2 separate regions of the Homo sapiens genome follow, and region 1 is linked to region 2. Evidence: promoter capture Hi-C in human tissues and cell types (Jung and others, 2019). All regions are on one chromosome and are shown on one strand. The core of a region is centred on a gene start or on the middle of the fragment in contact, and the rest is flanking DNA. Distances in the headings are between cores, read along the strand shown.

The links. The method cuts DNA at HindIII sites, captures the fragments that hold promoters and counts their contacts. A contact is called where the count stands out against the background at its distance.
Region 1: a fragment that was not itself captured here is called in contact with the fragment with the promoter of CAPN1 in region 2 in 1 of the 25 tissues and cell types used here (hippocampus).

The regions. Positions count from the first base shown.
Region 1 is chr11:66,523,873-66,526,372 of GRCh38, forward strand. It overlaps BBS1 (Bardet-Biedl syndrome 1), which reads left to right. Exons shown (of 17, transcript NM_024649.5): 11 at 1-10; 12 at 2,251-2,320. It also overlaps a transcript of ZDHHC24 not described here. Among named protein-coding and RNA genes, the nearest start is that of BBS1, 14 kb to the left of the region's middle. The HindIII fragment of the contact is 5,922 bases long and covers 1-2,500 here.
Region 2 is chr11:65,176,771-65,183,177 of GRCh38, forward strand. CAPN1 (calpain 1) reads left to right here and starts at 5,158. Exons shown (of 22, transcript NM_005186.4): 1 at 5,158-5,243; 2 at 5,931-6,198; 3 at 6,358-6,407. The coding sequence starts at 5,932. It overlaps CAPN1-AS1 (CAPN1 antisense RNA 1), which reads right to left and starts at 5,064. Exons shown (of 2, transcript NR_145677.1): 1 at 4,455-5,064; 2 at 3,101-4,302. RefSeq lists silencers at 4,477-4,926, 5,528-5,822 and enhancers at 4,845-5,634, 5,635-6,407. The HindIII fragment of the contact is 8,891 bases long and covers 2,732-6,407 here.

The DNA of each region.
Region 1 (2,500 bases), core at 1-2,500, 1.3 Mb after region 2:
CCACACCCCGGTGAGCCCCATCTCCGGCATCTGCCACTCACTCCTCCTTGCCCTCGTCTCACCTCTGGGGCTTCTTAGCTGCCTCTTCCGACCACACATTGATGCATTTCAAAAACATTTGTTGAGGCCAGGCACAGTGGCTCATGCCTGTAATCCCAGCACTTTGGGAGGCCAAGGTGGGCAGATCACCTGAGGTAAGGAGTTCAAAACCAGCCTAGCCAACATGGCATAACCCCCTTGCTACTAAAAATACAAAAATTAGCCGGGCATGGTGGTGCGTACCTGTAATCCCAGCTACTCAGGAGGTTGAGGTAGGAGAATCGCTTGAGCCTGGGAGGCGGAGGTTGCAGTGAGCCAAGATCAAACCATGGCACTTCAGCCTGGACAACAGAGCGAGACTCCATCTTAAAAAAAAAAAAAATGTGTTGAGCACCTCATATGTACCAGTCACCATATTGGTAGGGGTGGGGGGTAAAATGATGACTAAGTCCTTGTTTTCAGGAGGCTTACAGTCTAAGGTAACAGCCAGCCAGAGACATAGCAAATTTAAAAGGGCCGACTGAAGCAGAGCAAAGTGCTAAAAAGCGCAGAGGGTGCTGAGTGACAAGGGTGGGGGGTGAGATAAATGGGGATGGACTCCATGGGACACTTCACAGAACAAGTGACAGTTCAACTGGGCCTCAGAACAGTTTGTCAGGTGGACAAATGGAGGAAGAACATTCTGCACAGAGAATAGCATGCACAAAGCCTGAGAAGTATGAAGGCTCTTGATTAAGGAATCCAGGTCATTTGATGAGTTTGGACCAGAGGTTTTCAGACTCTAAGTTGTGAATCATTAAATCAGTTTAGTAGATCACAACCAGCAACATTTTTAAAAATAGAATAGTAAATTCAAAGTATGTCACAAGTGAGGGCCAGGCACATTGGCTCACACCTGTAATCCCAGCACTTTGGAAGGCTGAGGCAGGCGATCACAGTTCTGGAACAGCCTGGCCAACATGGTGAAACCCCATCTCTACTAAAAATAAACAAATTAGCCGGGTATGGGCCGGGCACGGTGGCTCACGTCTGTAATCCCAGCACTTTGGGAGGCCGAGGCAGGCAGATCACAAGGTCAGGAGATGGAGACCATCCTGGCTAACACGGTAAAACCCCGTCTCTACTAAAAATACAAAAAATTAGCCGGGCATGGTGGCAGGTGCCTGTAGTCCCAGCTACTCAGGAGGCTGAGGCAGGAGAATGGCGTGAACCTGGGAGGTGGAGCTTGCAGTGAGCCGAGATCGCACCACTGCACTCCAGCCTGGGTGACAGAGCGAGACTCCATCTCAAAAAAAAAAAAAAAGCCGGGTGTGATGGCACACCTGTAATCCCAGCTACTTGGGAGGCTGAGGCAGAAGAATCACTTGAACCTGGGAGGCAAAGGTTGCAGTGAACTGAGATCGCGCCACTGCACTCCAGCCTGGGCCACAGAGCAAGACTCTGTCTCAAAACAAAAAAACAAAACAACAAAAATAAATAAATAATTACAAATACAAATAGAAAAATTAGCCAAGCATGGTGGTGCATGCCTATAATCGCATCTACTGGGAAGGCCGAGGCAGAATCACTTGAACCCAGGAGGCAGAGGTTGCAGTGAGCTGGAGATCACACCACTGCACTCCAGCCTGGGCAATGAAGTGAGACTCCATCTCAAAAAAAAAGTATGTCACAAGTGAAACTGTGTATGTGTGTGTAAATTGTCCTGTGTCACAGTATAAAATTTGCAAACAACTGGCTTGGGCCATAGGTGCTGGGAGGGCCGGTGGTATGCTCGTTGAAAGAAGGGTAAAGAGGAGAGAACTGACAGAAAAGGCGGGTTGGAGTCAAATGTGGAAGGCCTTCAGTGTCCTAAGAAAGAGAACAAAAGCCATTGGAGGTTTTCTATCAGAGACCAGACATATTTGTGTTTTTGAAAGGTAGCAAAGGCAGCATTGTGAAGGGCAGACTGGGGAGAAAGACCCGAAAGACGAGTCTGGGAGATCTATTAGGAGGTTGACCCCAAAAGTGAGGGCCAGTGATATTTGGTCTGGAACTGAGGTAGTGAGATTGGAGGGGAGATGAGAAATATAGGAAATATTTCAGAGGCAGCGATTCCCCAGGCCTGTCTCTATCACTTCTCACCTATTATATCTGGGGCCTCCCCTACCCATCCCCTGTCTTGCTTTCCTCTCCAAGATATTTCCCCAACTAAACTCTGACGTCTCCACATAGGATGCAGTGACCAGCCTTTGCTTTGGCCGGTACGGGCGGGAGGACAACACCCTCATCATGACCACTCGAGGTGAGTGGAGTCAGACCTGGCAAGGGCTTTGAAGTCGGGAGTGAAGGGACAGGCCTGCTTCTGGGGAAAGAGGAGGAGGTGGAAATGAAGCATGGGTGGACCTGGGTGTGGAAAGTAAGGCCTACAGAAGTGTCCTTCTGGAGCTAGGCCTCCACTGGGACAGCCCAAGGGCTGGGTCCT
Region 2 (6,407 bases), core at 3,908-6,407:
TGATTTTTGTATATTTAGTAGAGATAGGGTTTCACGATGTTGGCCAGGCTGGTCTTGAACACCTGACCTCAAGTGATCCACCCACCTCAGCCTCCCAAAGTGCTAGGATTACAGGCATGAGCCACCGTGCCCAGCCAGCTTCTGGCTGTATTTTCGTTTTCATTTTTGTACGTTTAAATATTGAAGGTTAACATTTAATTTTTATTTTTATTTATTTATTTTTTTTGAGACGTTGTCTCACTCTGTCGCCGAGGCTGGAGTGCAGTGGCGCAATCTTGGCTCACTGCAAGCTCTGCCTCCTGGGTTCACGCCATTCTCCTGCCTCAGCCTCCCAAGTGGCTGGGACTACAGGCGCCCGCCACCACGCCCGGCTAATTCGTTTTGTATTTTTAGTAGAGATGGGGTTTCACCGTGTTAGCCAGGATGGTCTTGATCTCCTGACCTCGTGATCCACCTGCCTCAGCCTCCCAAAGTGCTGGGATTACAGGCATGAACCACCGCGCCTGGCCTATTTTTTATTGATTTTTTAGAGATGGAGTCTTGCTTTGTTGCCCAGGCTAGAGTGCAGCGGTGCTCACTGAGGCCTTGAACCCCTAGGCTCAAGAGAGCCTCCCACCTCAGGCTCCGAAAATGCTGGGATTACAGGTGGTGTGAGATACCACACCAGACCTAGAGTTTTTATTTTTTAATTTTTAAAAAAATTTTTATTTATTTTTTTGAGACGGAGTCTCACTCTTTTGCTCAGGCTGGAGTGAAGTGGTGCAATCTCGGCTCACTGCAACCTCCGCCCCCTGGGTTCAAACAATTCTCCTGCCTCAGCCTCCCGAGTAGCTGGGATTACAAACGCCTGCCACCCACCATGCCCAGCTTTTTTTTTTTTTTTTTTTGTATTTTTAGTAGAGACGAGGTTTCACCATATTGGCCGGGCTGGTCGTGAACTCCTGACCTCAGGTGATCCATCTACCTTGGCCTCCCAAAGTGCTAGGATTACAGGTGTTAGCCACCACACCCAGCCTTTTTAAATGTTTTTTTCATTAGGAACAACATATTCCAAACCTATAAATTGAGTTCATCTGTAATTTTTTCTAAGATACAAATTATGAATCCAACTTACTTTTTTTCCAGATTGCTCCCTTTTCTTCCTAATGTCTTTTATTAACTCATCTTTTCTCAACAGATTAGAAATGGTACTTTTATCATCTACTACATTCCTGCCTGTATTTGAATCTGTTTCTAAATTTCTCTGTCTTCTATTGATCTCTATGTGTCAGTAACCCTCTTTAATTATTACCTTTTAATGATAGATTTGTTGTGTTTTAATATCTGGTAGGATTAGTCTATACTCATTATGTCTTTTATTTTCAGAAGTTTCCTACTTGTTTAATTTGCCATATGACCTTTAAATCAGCTTTTCTAGTCCCTCCTTATCTCCCACCAGAAGACTCTTAAAATTTTTCATTGTGATACACTTAGAGATTAATTTAAGGAGAATTGACATCTATATGAAGCATCTTCATATGAAGACCAAGGTGTCAGCCCCCTTGCCTCTGCTTTTTGGTGGCTAGTGACTCCCAAATTTGTACCTCTATTTTGAGCACAAGGTCTGTTCCTCACCCCTAGGAATCTCCTCTTGGATAGGGGGATCCCAAAGATACCCCATACCCTGATCCCATACTGTCCCTCCAGCTTAGTGCATTCCCCCTTCTCTTTAATCTACTCAGGTGCTCAAGCCAGATCCAGGGTCTGAAGTTGTCTTTGGTCTCTCCTGGTGTCCAAGAGCCATATCTAACCAGTGACTAAGTTCTATTTTTTTTTTTTTTTTGAGACGGAGTTTTGCTCTTGTCGCCCAGGCTGGAGTGCAATGGTGTGATCTTGGCTCACTGCAACCTCCATCTCCTGGGTTCAAGTGATTCTCCTACCTCAGCCTCCCTAGTAGTGGGGACTACAGGAGCCCACCACCACGTCCAGCTAATTTTTGTATTTTTTAGTAGAGACAGGGTTTCGCCATATTGGCCAGGCTCGTCTCTCGAACTCCTGACCTTATGTGATCCGCCCACCTCAGCCTCCTAAAGTGCTGGGATTACAGGGGTGAGCCACTGCGCTCAGCCTGTGGTATATTTGTAATCACTGATGAACCAATATTGACACAATATTATTAATTCAAGTCCATAGTTTACATTAAGGTTCACTCTTAGTGTTGTACATTCTGCAGGTTTGGATAAATGCATGTCATGCATCCGTCATTACAGTATCATACAGAATAGTTTCGCTGTGCTAAAAATGCCCTGTGCTCCATCCCTCTCCTACCCCTCTGAATCCCTGGCAACTGCTGATCTTTTTACCATTGCTAGTTTTGCCTTTTCTAGAACGTCATATAGAGTTATTGGAATCATACAGTATGCAGCTTTTTAATACCAGCCTCTTTTACTTAGCAATATGCGTTTAAGGTTATGCTATGTCTTTTTGTAGCTTGATGGCTGATTTCTTTGTATCGCTAAATTTTAAAGAAATTGCCAAACTGTCTTCCAAAGTGGTGGTGATCATTTTACCCTCTCTTGGTGTATGACAGCTCCAGTTCTTCTATATCCTTGACAACATAACAACACTTGGTATGGTTGATCTTAACTTTTAGCCATTCTAGTAGGTGTTCTTTTAGAAGCAGTCCTTCTAGTGGCTTTAATTTGCATTTCCCTAAGAGTAATGCACTCAGTGTTTTTTAATGTGCCTATTTGCCATCCAGAGATCTTTTTGGATGAAGTGTCTGTTCAAATGTTTTGTCCATTTTTTGACAGGCGCGGTGGCTCACCCTGTAATCCCAGCACCTTGGGAGGCAGAGGCGTGCAGATCACTTGAGGTCAGGAGTTTGAGACCAGCTTGGCTAACATGGTGAAACCCTGTCTCTACTAAAAATACAAAAATTAGCCTGGTGTGGTGGCGGGCGCCTGTAATCCCAGCTACTGGGGAGGCTGAGGCAGGAGAATTGCTTGAACCCAGGAGGTGGAGGTTGCAGTGAGCCAGGATCGCGCCACTGCATTCCAACCTGGGTGATGGAGCGGGACTCCATCTCAAAAACAAAAACAAACACCAGAAAACAAACAAATGTTTTGTCCATTTTTATTGGATTTTTATTCAATTGTAAAAGTTCTTTATACAAGTCCTACATCAGATAGAATTTTTACAAATATTCGTCCTAGTCTATGGCTTATCTTTTCATTTTTAATAGTTTCGTGCATTTTGAGAAACAAAAGCGTTTTATTTTGATGAAGTTCAATTTATTGATTTCTTCTATCATTTACACTTTTTGTGTCATATTTAAGAAATCTGGCCAGGTGCCAAAGCTCACACCTGTAATCCCAGCACTTTGGGAGGCTCAGGCAGGAGGACTGCTTGAGCCCAGGAGTTCATGACCAGCCTGAGTAACACAGCAGGACCCCATTTCTACAAAAAATTTAAAAATTAGCTGTGTGTCGTGGCACGTGCCTGTAGTCTCAGCTACTCAGGAGGCTGAGGTGAGAGGATCTCTTGAGCCCAGGAGTTTAAAGTTACAGTGAGCTGTGATCAGGGCACTGCACTCCTGCCTGGTCAATGAAAGCAAGACCCTGCCTTTAGAAAAGAAAAAAGAAATCTTTTCAAACCCAATATTGTTAAGATTGTCTCCATTTTTAAAAAAAAAAGTTTTATGGTTTGGCCATTTATATTTAGGTGTGTAATCCAGTTTGAGTTAAATTTTGATGGTGTATCCTAAATAGTTATCAAATCCATCTACTTCTGCCTGCCACCTCTCTAGTTTAAACCACCCTTCTCTGTCCCTGGACACCTGCGCAGAAAGCCTAGGAGCTGGTTCCACCCATCACTCACCAGGTTAGGTATTTCAGGCAAGTCACACCCTCTCAGGCCTCAGTTTTCCTCTTTTGTTAACTGAGGGTGAAAGTGGGGTTAGATTAGATCAGCGGCTCTTAACTTTTGAGGGGTCGTGGGCCCTAGAGTCCTGGGAACGCTATGCAGTTTCCTCAGCAAAATGCTTGCATCCACAACATGCAAGACTGCAGCAGCTGCTGGGCTGGGGCTGCGAGACCAGCGAAAAGCCCTGACTTGGGGGGGTCTCGGGAGTCTCTGCAGTCTCCCCACCCACACCCCCGGCCTCCGCGCCGAATCCTGGCCCCCCAACTTCTTGCAGCCCGTGAAGCAGGATCTCAGGGTCCTGGGGGTGGGGAGAGGGGGCTGCCGTCCTGCTCGCAGCCTCTGCCGCCCTCTCCTGGGTAAGGTGACACATGGGCGCTTCCAGGTGGGTGGGCTGAGAGCCTGGGGGAGAGAACAGGGATGTCCACCTCTCTAAGTTTCCAGGTTCAAGAAACCCCAGAACGTTAGAGAAAGATGGGCTCCCACAATTGCCCAACCCCATCCCATAGGATGCACGCATGCGGAAAGTCGGGCCGAACGGGGCAGGGACTTACCCAAGGTCACGCAGCGAGCCCGGTCCCCCTGCGTTCCCCGGGGAGCGCTGAGCCGGGACGCGGCGGTGGGGTGGGGAAGGGGAGTGGCGCGGCCCTGCGGGGTGAGGCTGCCGTTTGCTGAGTGTCCGGCAGGGGTCTGCTCGCTGCCAGCCCGGCCCCTCCTCAGAGCAGCTGCCGCAGCCCGAGGTAATCTCGGCCCCGCGCCGGGGCTGGCTGGGAACGGCGGGAGCAGCTGCGGTCGCGCGGAGCGAGGGGAGCTGGGGACCGGGCGGGCCCGGGGCTGCGGGAGGCGGCGCCGCCGCACAATCGCCCCGGAATGCCCGCCAGGGCGCGCGTGGGGTGCGGCCGTCCGGCCCTGCAACTCGAGCTGCTGCCCCTGGTTAAAAATACCCCCTGCCCGGCCCTCCCCCTCCGTTCCCCGCGGTGCCCTTCCGCCGCGCCCCAGCCCCCCCATCCCCCCCCGCGCTGGCCCCTCCCCGGGGACTGCTCTGCCTTTTACTAATTTGTCCTCTCGCGGAATTGGCCCCCGGCCTGCGGAGGGAGGGGCGGGGAGACACCGTGAGTAAGAGATAGTCAGAGACCGTGCCGGAGAGATAAGGGAGAGCCGAGAGGAAGCGGGGTAGGAGCCCCAGGAGGAGGAGGAGGAGAAGGAGAGAGGGAGGGCGGAGGGCGGAGGGGCGGCGGGAGGAGGGCGGGGAGGAGCGCTCTTCCTGGTTGGGCCCTGCCCTGAGCTGCCACCGGGAAGCCAGCCTCAGGGACTGCAGCGACCCCCAAACACCCCTCCCCCAGGTAAGAAGCTGGGTAGCCGAGCCGGGATTCCTTGACCCTGGCCACTGCTCCTGGGCTGAGGGGCTGCCCCAGCACGGTCCCTTCTCGGGGGCCTCTGCGTTCCTGGAGCAGGGGTGGGGGCTGGCGGAGCGGCACAGCCCAGGCGCCTGTCCCAGCCTGGCTCACCGCTGTCCCCAGGGGCTGGGCTAGGGCCCACCAGCTCTGATATCGAGCCTGCTGCGGGGGCCTGAGGAGGGGGACCCCGACCGTCTGGGGTTTTCAGCCCACGGCAAGGGGCCGGTGCACCAGGAGCTTGGTTAGTTTGGGGAGGGGGTTGCAGGCCTGTGAACAGGATCAAAGAGGCCTTCCCTGCTGTGTCCCACCTGCCCAGTTCCTTGTGCTGTCTGGAGGCTCCGCCCTGCCCCACCTGACCTGCTGGCTCACTACAGAGCTGCAAGCCCCTGACAATGGGATCCGGGAAAGGAGAGGTGGCCGGCACGCCTGGGAACTGGGAAATCCCTTTCCTGGATTCACTGGGAGCACCGGGAGGTGGCTGAGAACCCTACTTCTGTGAGGGGAGCAGTGAGGCAGGGAAACCCTAGGTTTGGGGATGGATAAGCAGGGGCAGGAGAGCAGAGCTTGCAGGCAGGAGCCCAGGTTCTAGTCTTGGGAAGGCCTGGGTTCTGAGCAGGCCCATCTGTCCGGCAGGATGTCGGAGGAGATCATCACGCCGGTGTACTGCACTGGGGTGTCAGCCCAAGTGCAGAAGCAGCGGGCCAGGGAGCTGGGCCTGGGCCGCCATGAGAATGCCATCAAGTACCTGGGCCAGGATTATGAGCAGCTGCGGGTGCGATGCCTGCAGAGTGGGACCCTCTTCCGTGATGAGGCCTTCCCCCCGGTACCCCAGAGCCTGGGTTACAAGGACCTGGGTCCCAATTCCTCCAAGACCTATGGCATCAAGTGGAAGCGTCCCACGGTGAGAGGGGCCATCCTGGGTGGGACTCGGCTAAGCCAGATCCTGGATGAGGAGTAGGGATGGGACTCCATGTCCCTGGTGGGGAATGGGGTCTGGGGTGGCCTGGTGCCAATTTCTGGGAGGGGCTGGCCGAGGAACAGGACTCTGGGTCTCTCGTAGGAACTGCTGTCAAACCCCCAGTTCATTGTGGATGGAGCTACCCGCACAGA